Linked DNA regions of Homo sapiens: region 2 is linked to region 1. The links are contacts of gene promoters, found by promoter capture Hi-C in human tissues and cell types (Jung and others, 2019). All regions are on one chromosome and are shown on one strand. Each heading gives the region's core, a stretch centred on a gene start or on the middle of the fragment in contact. The rest is flanking DNA. Distances are from core to core; before and after follow the strand shown. Region 1 holds the start of CDH22 (cadherin 22). Region 2 overlaps TP53RK (TP53 regulating kinase).

What was found. The method cuts DNA at HindIII sites, captures the fragments that hold promoters and counts their contacts. A contact is called where the count stands out against the background at its distance.
Region 2: a fragment that was not itself captured here is called in contact with the fragment with the promoter of CDH22 in region 1 in 2 of the 25 tissues and cell types used here (dorsolateral prefrontal cortex and spleen).

Annotation. Positions count from the first base shown.
Region 1 is chr20:46,306,233-46,310,175 of GRCh38, forward strand. CDH22 (cadherin 22) reads right to left here and starts at 2,266. Exons shown (of 12, transcript NM_021248.3): 1 at 2,023-2,266. The HindIII fragment of the contact is 29,361 bases long and covers 1-3,943 here.
Region 2 is chr20:46,681,028-46,685,024 of GRCh38, forward strand. TP53RK (TP53 regulating kinase) reads right to left here. Exons shown (of 2, transcript NM_033550.4): 2 at 3,338-3,997. It also overlaps a transcript of SLC13A3 not described here. Among named protein-coding and RNA genes, the nearest start is that of TP53RK-DT, 6.3 kb to the right of the region's middle. RefSeq lists an enhancer at 2,273-2,784. The HindIII fragment of the contact is 7,307 bases long and covers 1-3,997 here.

The DNA.
Region 1 (3,943 bases), core at 1,016-3,515:
CCAACACATAAGCAGCGTTGGTGAGGCCTGGATGTCAAGATGCCTGGGTTCCTATTCCGGCTCTGGGTATAGCTTACCATGTGACCTCGGGCTGCTGTTGCCAATCCTTGAAAATGGAAAAGAGGGCAGCCCAGGTGGTCTCCAATGTGCTGCTCACAGTTAGGAATAGGGAAAGGGGTTGTCTCCAGGGGTCCCCTGATGGGGCCACCCAAGAGGTACAGGTGCCCCTTAGCTGAGAGAGACCTGGCTGGCTTTATAAAGTACCTGCCCCCGAGGCACTGGCAGTGGTGGACCGGGAAGGGCACACAGACATCTCCAGGAAGCAGTGTTTAAATGTTGGCAATGCCCTTCCCTTCCAGGAGGAATGGAAGAGGAGTGTCCCAGACACTGGGACAAGGAGGGAAATAAGGGTGAAGTAGAGAAATGGCTGGGGCAGGGAACAGTTGAGTGCTACAGAAAAACTGAGGCAGACAGGATAGAAGATGGGTCGGGGTTGGGGGGGACGAGGAAATGGTCATTGGTGGGCAAAGACCAAAGGATGTCACTATGGGTGTAGAGGCCAAGTTTCAACAAGGGCTGTAGACTAGGGGCAACTGAGGGGGACGGAGTGGGCACTGATGGACACATATACGGGATACAAATGAAGGACAGAGAGTCGCGGTGGTTAGGGAGGAGCCTTTGGGCCCTAGGGCAGTGGTGATGCTGATATAGGGTATTGGCGCTGACCAGTGGGAGAAGAGGATGAGATCCTGAACCTGGGTGGAGAGGGAGAGAGAGCTGGCAACAGCCAAAGCCCTCAAATGAGCCGCTGCCTGTGCTGGGGGCACCTCGGCCAGCCCCAGAAACCTGGGGAGTGCTGGAATCAGCCCCACGGAAAAAGAAGCTGGCATGCGCAACCCTGGCGACGCCCGAAGGGTTTGGAGAGAAGAGGTTCCAAGGAGCGAGCACCTCGGAAGACCTGAGCAGCTTCAAACAGCAGCTTCTCTGCCCGCCACAAGGGGGTGCCCTGCACCTCGGGGAGACCTCGGGGGATCCTGGATCAGCCCTACCCTCTGCAGCCCCGCCTGGGACAGGGCCCGACGTTGCCAGAGAAGAGGCAGCGGGGAGGCGCGAGCGAGACGGGTCCACACTGTGCCCACCCAGGGCTGCCCGGCACCCCGCGCGCCCACGCAGTCCACTCTTCACAGTAAACGCCGCGGCCCCCGAGGGTTAGCCCTAAGTGGCGCTCTCTTTGGACGTTAGGCTGTCGGGGGCCCCGTCCTTCTTCCCCAGCGGGGACGGTGTCTCCGGAGTCGGGTCCTAAGGAAGAGAGCAGCGCTGGCTCTCGCTCACCGCCAGCCCGCCCGACGGCCATAGGGCAGGGGGGGTCGCGCCGGTGGGGCCGGCAGGGGTCCCTGTGGGCCGCCTCCCCGGCTCAGAGGGGACCAGAACCGTGCGTGTCGCCGCGGCTGGAGTCAGCCTCCGGGTGTCCCCGGACGCGGCACGACCTCGCACACACACACCGCGCGCACACGCTCGCGCCGTGCGGTATTTTCCCGGCCCCGGACCCCGCCTCTGGGAGGGGCCGGGGAGCCGAGCCCCGCTAGCAGGGTTGGGGGACCGGGAACGCCTGGGTCCCAGCCCTCGCGTCAGGGCTGTGCGCCACCTTCCCAGCCCCTTTTGGCGCGCCGGCTCGGCCCCTGGCGCTGCCACCCCTCGGCCCGCGGGGGTCCCGGAGGCTCCCGGGCGCGCGGCGGACGAGGTTGTGGGGACGGGTGGGAGCTGCGGGCTTCGGGCCGAGAGGCGGCTCGGCTCCGCGCCGGGGAAAGTTTGGACGTGGGAAACTCCCTCCCCGCCCTCCCGGCCGAGAGGAGGGGGCGCGCAGGGCCGGGCGCAGGCACCCCGGCTCCTCCTGCGGCTGGAGGCTCGCCCCCCGCGCCGCCTGCCCGGCCGCTCCCGCCGGCCAGGGGGCTCCCTCCCTGCCGGGCAGCCTCCCCTCGGCGGCGATCCGGCCGCTCCTCCCGCGGCACCCCGCGCTCTTACCTCGGGGAGCGGCCCGGGGCTCCCCCTAGTCCTGCCGCCTCGGGACGCTGCGTGGGGCGGGAGCCCCGGCGCGGGCAGCGGGCGAGTCCGGAGCCCCGCGGCCGCCCGCAGGAGCCGGAGGGAGAGCGGGAGCGAGAGGGGGAGCCGCGGCGGCGTGTGCGCGCGTGTGTGTGAGCGAGAGAGCGAGAGAGCGAGAGAGCGAGGGAGTGAGCGAGCGAGCGGGAGCGAGGGAGTGTGCGTGTCTGACTGGGGGGAAGTGTGCAAGGGACGGATCCCTTCCTTCCTCCCGCAGCCTCTGGTGGAGACTCGGAGAATGCAGGGCCCGCCGGGCAGGAGCCGCGCAGCGCCAAGCCGCAGGCGGCCGCCGGCCCGGACCCCCGCAGCCGGGGAACCCCAGCCCCCGCCCCCCGGATCGCGCCCCTCCTACACCAGGAGGGGACAGCCTTTCCCTCTCTCGGGCGGCCCAGTCCCAGGAAACCCCCCAGGGGACAGTGCCCCTCCCTCCTCCAACCCCAGATCCGCGCGAAGGGAGCGCCCCCAGGAGGGGGACCATCTACCTCCTCGCCTGGCAGCTCCCCAGGTGGCCGCAGTTTGAGACCAGAGCCTATTTCCCCACCTGATTTTACTGCGAATAGGGCTTCCCATTTCCGCCCCCTGACTACTGCGGGAGGCCGCCTTCAGAGGAGCAGGGGCGCAGGCCAGGGTAGGAGCAGGCTTCTCGAACAGTGGCCGCCCCGGCTTGCTGCCCAGAAAGGCACCTTGCACAGACCAGATCTGCCAGTTCAGAAACAGTCACTGTGCATTGAGGTGGACACCGACCAGGTGCCCAGGGCTGAGTCTCCAGGCAGGTGGGAGGTCGGGTGTCCCCGGGAGAGAAACTTGTGGGCTTTTCCTCTGGAGAGTCCCGCTGGACATCCTTGCAACCAACAAAGTAAGCAGGCAAAACAAGACACCTCCATCCTTAACTTGGTGCCACCTTGACCTGGAGAAGTCTCCCAATAAAATCTTCCCACTGCCCAGAAACTCCTTGCTGGTTGGGTTTTCCGTTCTTTTAAAAATCCGGCTGGTCTGCTCCCTGATGTTTTTTCCACCTGGCCCTGTTTCTTTCTCCTGGCTGCCTGGCTCTCCTTACTACTTCATCTCTCTGGGATGAGGCCTAATGGAGGAGACCCTCCCACCCCACTCCTGAGTTCCCAATATGAGGTCGTTGATGGTAGGATAGGACCAGTGACTCCCATAGACCCACCCTTTGTCTTGGGTTGTAGGTCCCCTTAGGAGTTGCCCGCCCCCCTATTCCCCATGGCTTCCAGATAGGTGAGTGAAGGATAACAGGAGACTGGACAGCTGCAGACCTCTGTCCCGCCAAGCTGCCAATGACCAGCCATTTAATCACCCACAAGCAGCTGCTGAAGTTCATGGCAAAGAGGGGGCAGGGCCCTCCAGGACCCCCAGCTCTACCTCGCCCCTATCCTTCTCTCCTCCTCGCCTCCTTCCCCAATTTCCATCTCCATCTCCACACCCTAGTCCGTCTTGCTGATGATTGGAATCACCTCTCCTGCTGGCTGCCCCTCTGGCCCCTCCTACTAAACTCCATCATTCATTTATTTATTTTGAGATGTATTCTCCACTGTGCCAGTCTGTTCCCTCCCCTACGTCCTTCTCTTGGTTTATTTCCCTTCATTGATCTCTTCCAGCCTTGCCTTTCTATCGCCTTCCTTTTCTCCATCTCTCTCTTCCCCTCTCCTCTCTATTCTTAGCCTCCACTCTTTCATGCTTTCAGAGACCAGAGGCCAGCCTTCCAGGTGCATCTCTTCACTTTTGGTTCTCTCCTCCCGCTCTGACTCACTTTTGCTGTTTGCTCCAGTTCCCATTCCTTCTTTGCCTCTTCCTCCAGGCTCTGGTGTGTGCTGTTCATCTCTGG
Region 2 (3,997 bases), core at 663-3,162, 370 kb after region 1:
AGTGGCATGTTCTGGCTTTAAAAGGGTCCCCTGGGCTGCTGAGTAAGGAAGAACGGAAGGGGCCAGGACAAGGGCCTCCCAGGCCGCGGCTGGACCTTGTCATCCCTGCAGCTTCTTCAGAAGAGCCAGACGCAGCCCATGTGCTCACTAAGTACCCAGTGAAGGAGTGAGTGAAGAGAGAATGGATGAAAACATTAAGACTGGAAGGAACTAGACATCCTCACGTCCGTCTCCCTCATTACATGGTGCATAATTAGCACAGTGCCTGCTACACTTAGGTGCTCAGCTAAGGTGGCGTTGAGTGAATAAATGAACACGTTCAAGGAAAGGAGGGAGGGAGAGAGGGGCATGGACTTGGGAAGAAAAGATGGAAGTAGAGGAAGGAGAAGGGGAGAAAAGAAAGGGAGGAAGAAAGAGGGGAAGGAGGGAGGAGGGAGGAGGAAGAGAAGAGAGAAAGTGAAGGGAGGTTTACCTGTTCGCACCAAGAATGACAGTAACTTACGACCCCTGGTGGCAGAAAAGTGCACAGTCCATTGAAATTGCGGTGCCTAGAATTAAAGGACGCAAGGGAAGACTCCTAGTTCCCCAAGAGGTTCAGGCTGCATTCATTTGTTTTCTATTGCTTTTAACAGAATACTTAAAACTGGGTAATTTATAAAGAAAAGGAGTTTATTTCTTACTGTTATGGAGGAATACAAGGTCGAGGGGGCACATCTGGTGGGGGCACAGCCTTCTTGAAGGTGGGGACTCTACAGAGACCTGAGGCGGCACATGGCATCATGTGACAAGGGGGCTGGGTGTGCTAGCTCAGGTCTCTCTTCCTCTTATAAAGCCACCAGTCCTGCTCTCATAATAACCCATTAATCTATTAGTCCACACGTGGATTAATCAATTCATGAGGGCAGAGGCCTTAGGATCCAATCACCTCTTAAAGGCCCCATCTTTCAATACTGCTAAGTTGGGCATTCAGTTTCCAACACATGAAATACGGGGAACACATTCAAACCACAGCAGGTGCAGACCCTTGTAAGAACATGGGCTCCTCCATCAGGGCTCTGGCAGTCAGTGACAGCTGGGTTAGGACTAGGGTGAAGCAAGTGAGGCACAAATTTAAGGAGGCATCCAAAAACTCAATAATCCAAAAAATATCTTAATGGGATGGTTTTAAAAATCAAATTGGCAAACTATCGCCCACGGGCCGACTGTCTGATTTGTAAATAAAGTTTTATTGGAACCAGGGTCAGGAATATGGTGGATTCTTGCAGTTAAATCAGAGATTATGCCCTGCATGCCTTCGCTAATGTAGATGTTCCCAACCCCTAAGGTAGCACGTGGTGTGGGCGTGGTCAGCTCAGCTCATCCAACAATAAGAACACAGCTTGTTTGGAGCACTCACTATGCCAGCTTTAAAGCAACTCTACTCTGGAACTACCTCTCTTGGCCCCATGGACTGGCCACAAAAGCACTTTTAAATGTTCCAGGAATGTGGGCCTGTGTCAAGTGTTGGTCGCATCTCGGTGTCATATCACATTTCCCTGGTTCTGCCATTTACTAACTGAGTGGCCTGGGGCAGGACTTAATTTCTCTGTGTCTCATTTGCTTCTTCTGTAAAATGGGTTAATGCATGGAAAGAACGTAACTCTATAAAGTCAGCTGCTGTTGTTAAAAGCATGGGTCTGAATCCCAGCTCTGTCACTTATTGTGACCCTAGGACATATTTCCTATTGCCCAGTGTTTCCTCCACCATAAAATGGAGATTATAATCCTCATCTGGTTGGGTTTAGCTGGGGATTCACACAAAACTGCTAGTGCTGTTGGCTCAGCACTGCAAAGCACCTGCAGCTCCCCGGTGGACGTCAAGGGATCTGAAAGTGCAGAGGGTTCCTTAGCCCTTTGTGAGAGGAACTAGGAAAGGAATCCACTGTTCACCTAGGAACATTTGTTAACCCTTTATTTCCCACTGTGGGCCAAGGGCTAAGTGTGCAGATGGACGATTCTCCTCCTGGGGGCATTTGTGACGTTTCTCCAGTCTCCAATATCTGCCACTCTCCCTCTTGATACTTGCAAAGATCATTACTGCTTCCTGACAGCTGCGGCTACCCCCACTGCTACTGGCCACTGATACCGGAGATAGAAATTATTTAGGCAGATATTCAGGGCAAAAGAGTCCTCGGCGGAATTTCCCTTCTAACAAAAAAGCAGCCCCAGAAATCATTTCTTTTCTAACAAAGAGCAGCCTGAAAAATCCAGCTGCAAACATAGATAAGGAAGCTGGAAGCTTGCACGGGGGAATGCTGGTAGCTGTGCCAATAGAGAAGGGCTAACTGGGGGCCAGGCATGTCTAACACGAGGCTCCATCTTCCCTTTTCTTTTACCACGTGTACAGTAATAAAGAAATGGGCAACATGGCACAGCTCAGGCAGAGAACTCGCCTGCATAATAAAAGACTGGGGTGGGGGTGCCGAGATTCATACCCTGTGCCAATGGCACACCTGGGTCCAACCAGTTTTTCACACCCTATGTAGATCAGACAGCACCTCCTCACCAGCTCATCTATAAAACTCCCTTGCATTTCACTGCAGATCCAGCAACCCATTTTTCCAGGACCCCTCTTGTAGCAGAGCGCTATTCTCTTTCTTTCAACTATTAAATTTCTGCTCTTCACCTCACTCTTTGTGGGTCCCTGTCCTTGATCTCCGTGACCATGAGACAACGAGCCTCGGGTGTTACCCCCAGACAAGCCTGCTTCTCCACCGCGTTCCCTGCCTCAGTGGCTGCCAGGTCCTGTGCCAAGCAGTTGGAGCATGCTCGCCACAGCTTCCACCCTGGCTACTGTTTTTACTGGACCAGCTGGTTTCGGTCGCCTTTTCACTTCCAGGTTTCTTGCTTCCACTCTTGCCCTCTATGGTTTTCTGCCAGCAACCAATGCAACCCTTTCAAAACAATCAGGTATCACCCTGTTAAAAACCCTGAGTCCCATTAAGAACAAAACCCAACCTTGTAACAGGGCCCTGCAGGATCCGGCCCCGCCTCTCCCATCTCATGTTCTGCTCCTCCCCCTTGCTCACTAATGCCGGCCACACCAGCCTTGCTGTCGGGGATGTTTCTTCTTCGCCAACTTCGCACGCCACAGCCTGCCTGGGATATACTCTCTTCATCTCCTGTGTTTCTGGTTTTCCTTCACATCTTCACTCATCACTGTCTGAAACTGTCTTATGTTCCCCAGGAAAGTAAGCTTCATGTTCCCCTCTATTAGATCTCCAGTGCCCGGCGCATAGTGAGTACTAGTGTATTAGTCCGTTCTCACACTGCTGATAAAGACATACCCGAGACCGGGTAATTTATAAAGGAAAAGTTTAATAACTCACAGTTCAGCATGGCTGGGGATGCCTCAGAAAACTTATAATCATGGCAGATGGGGAAACAAACACACCCTTCTCCACGTGGCAGCAGGAAGTGCCGAACAAGAGGGAAAAGCCCCTTATAAAACCATCAGATCTCGTGAGAACTCACTCGCTATCACGAGAACAGCACGGAGGTAGCCGCCCCGAGGATTAAATTACCTCCCACTGGGTCCCTCCCATGTCACGTGGGGATTACGGGAACAATTCAAGATGAGATTTGGATGGGGACACAGCCAAACCCTATCAACTAGGGATTTGTTGACTTAATGCACACGAGCCAACCATACCCCAACAAAGCAGGTACTAGCCTTATAGTACACGTGAGGAAACTGAGGAATGAGGCATCTCATTCATGTTGGGAATATTAATTGAAAAACCTGTCAGCTCCTGTGGCCCTTGGAGTTCCTTGAAAATAATGTTATACGCCAATACTTATTATAGTACTGTAAAGATGCACCATATCCCATATCTCATTTGTCAGTGGAAAGAACACAGATTTGGAGCCAGGTAAAAGTACCTCTTGCTACCTGTGACGTCTTGGACAAGTTCCCACCTTTTGGGGCCAGTTTCTCCATCTATAAAATGGGGATAAT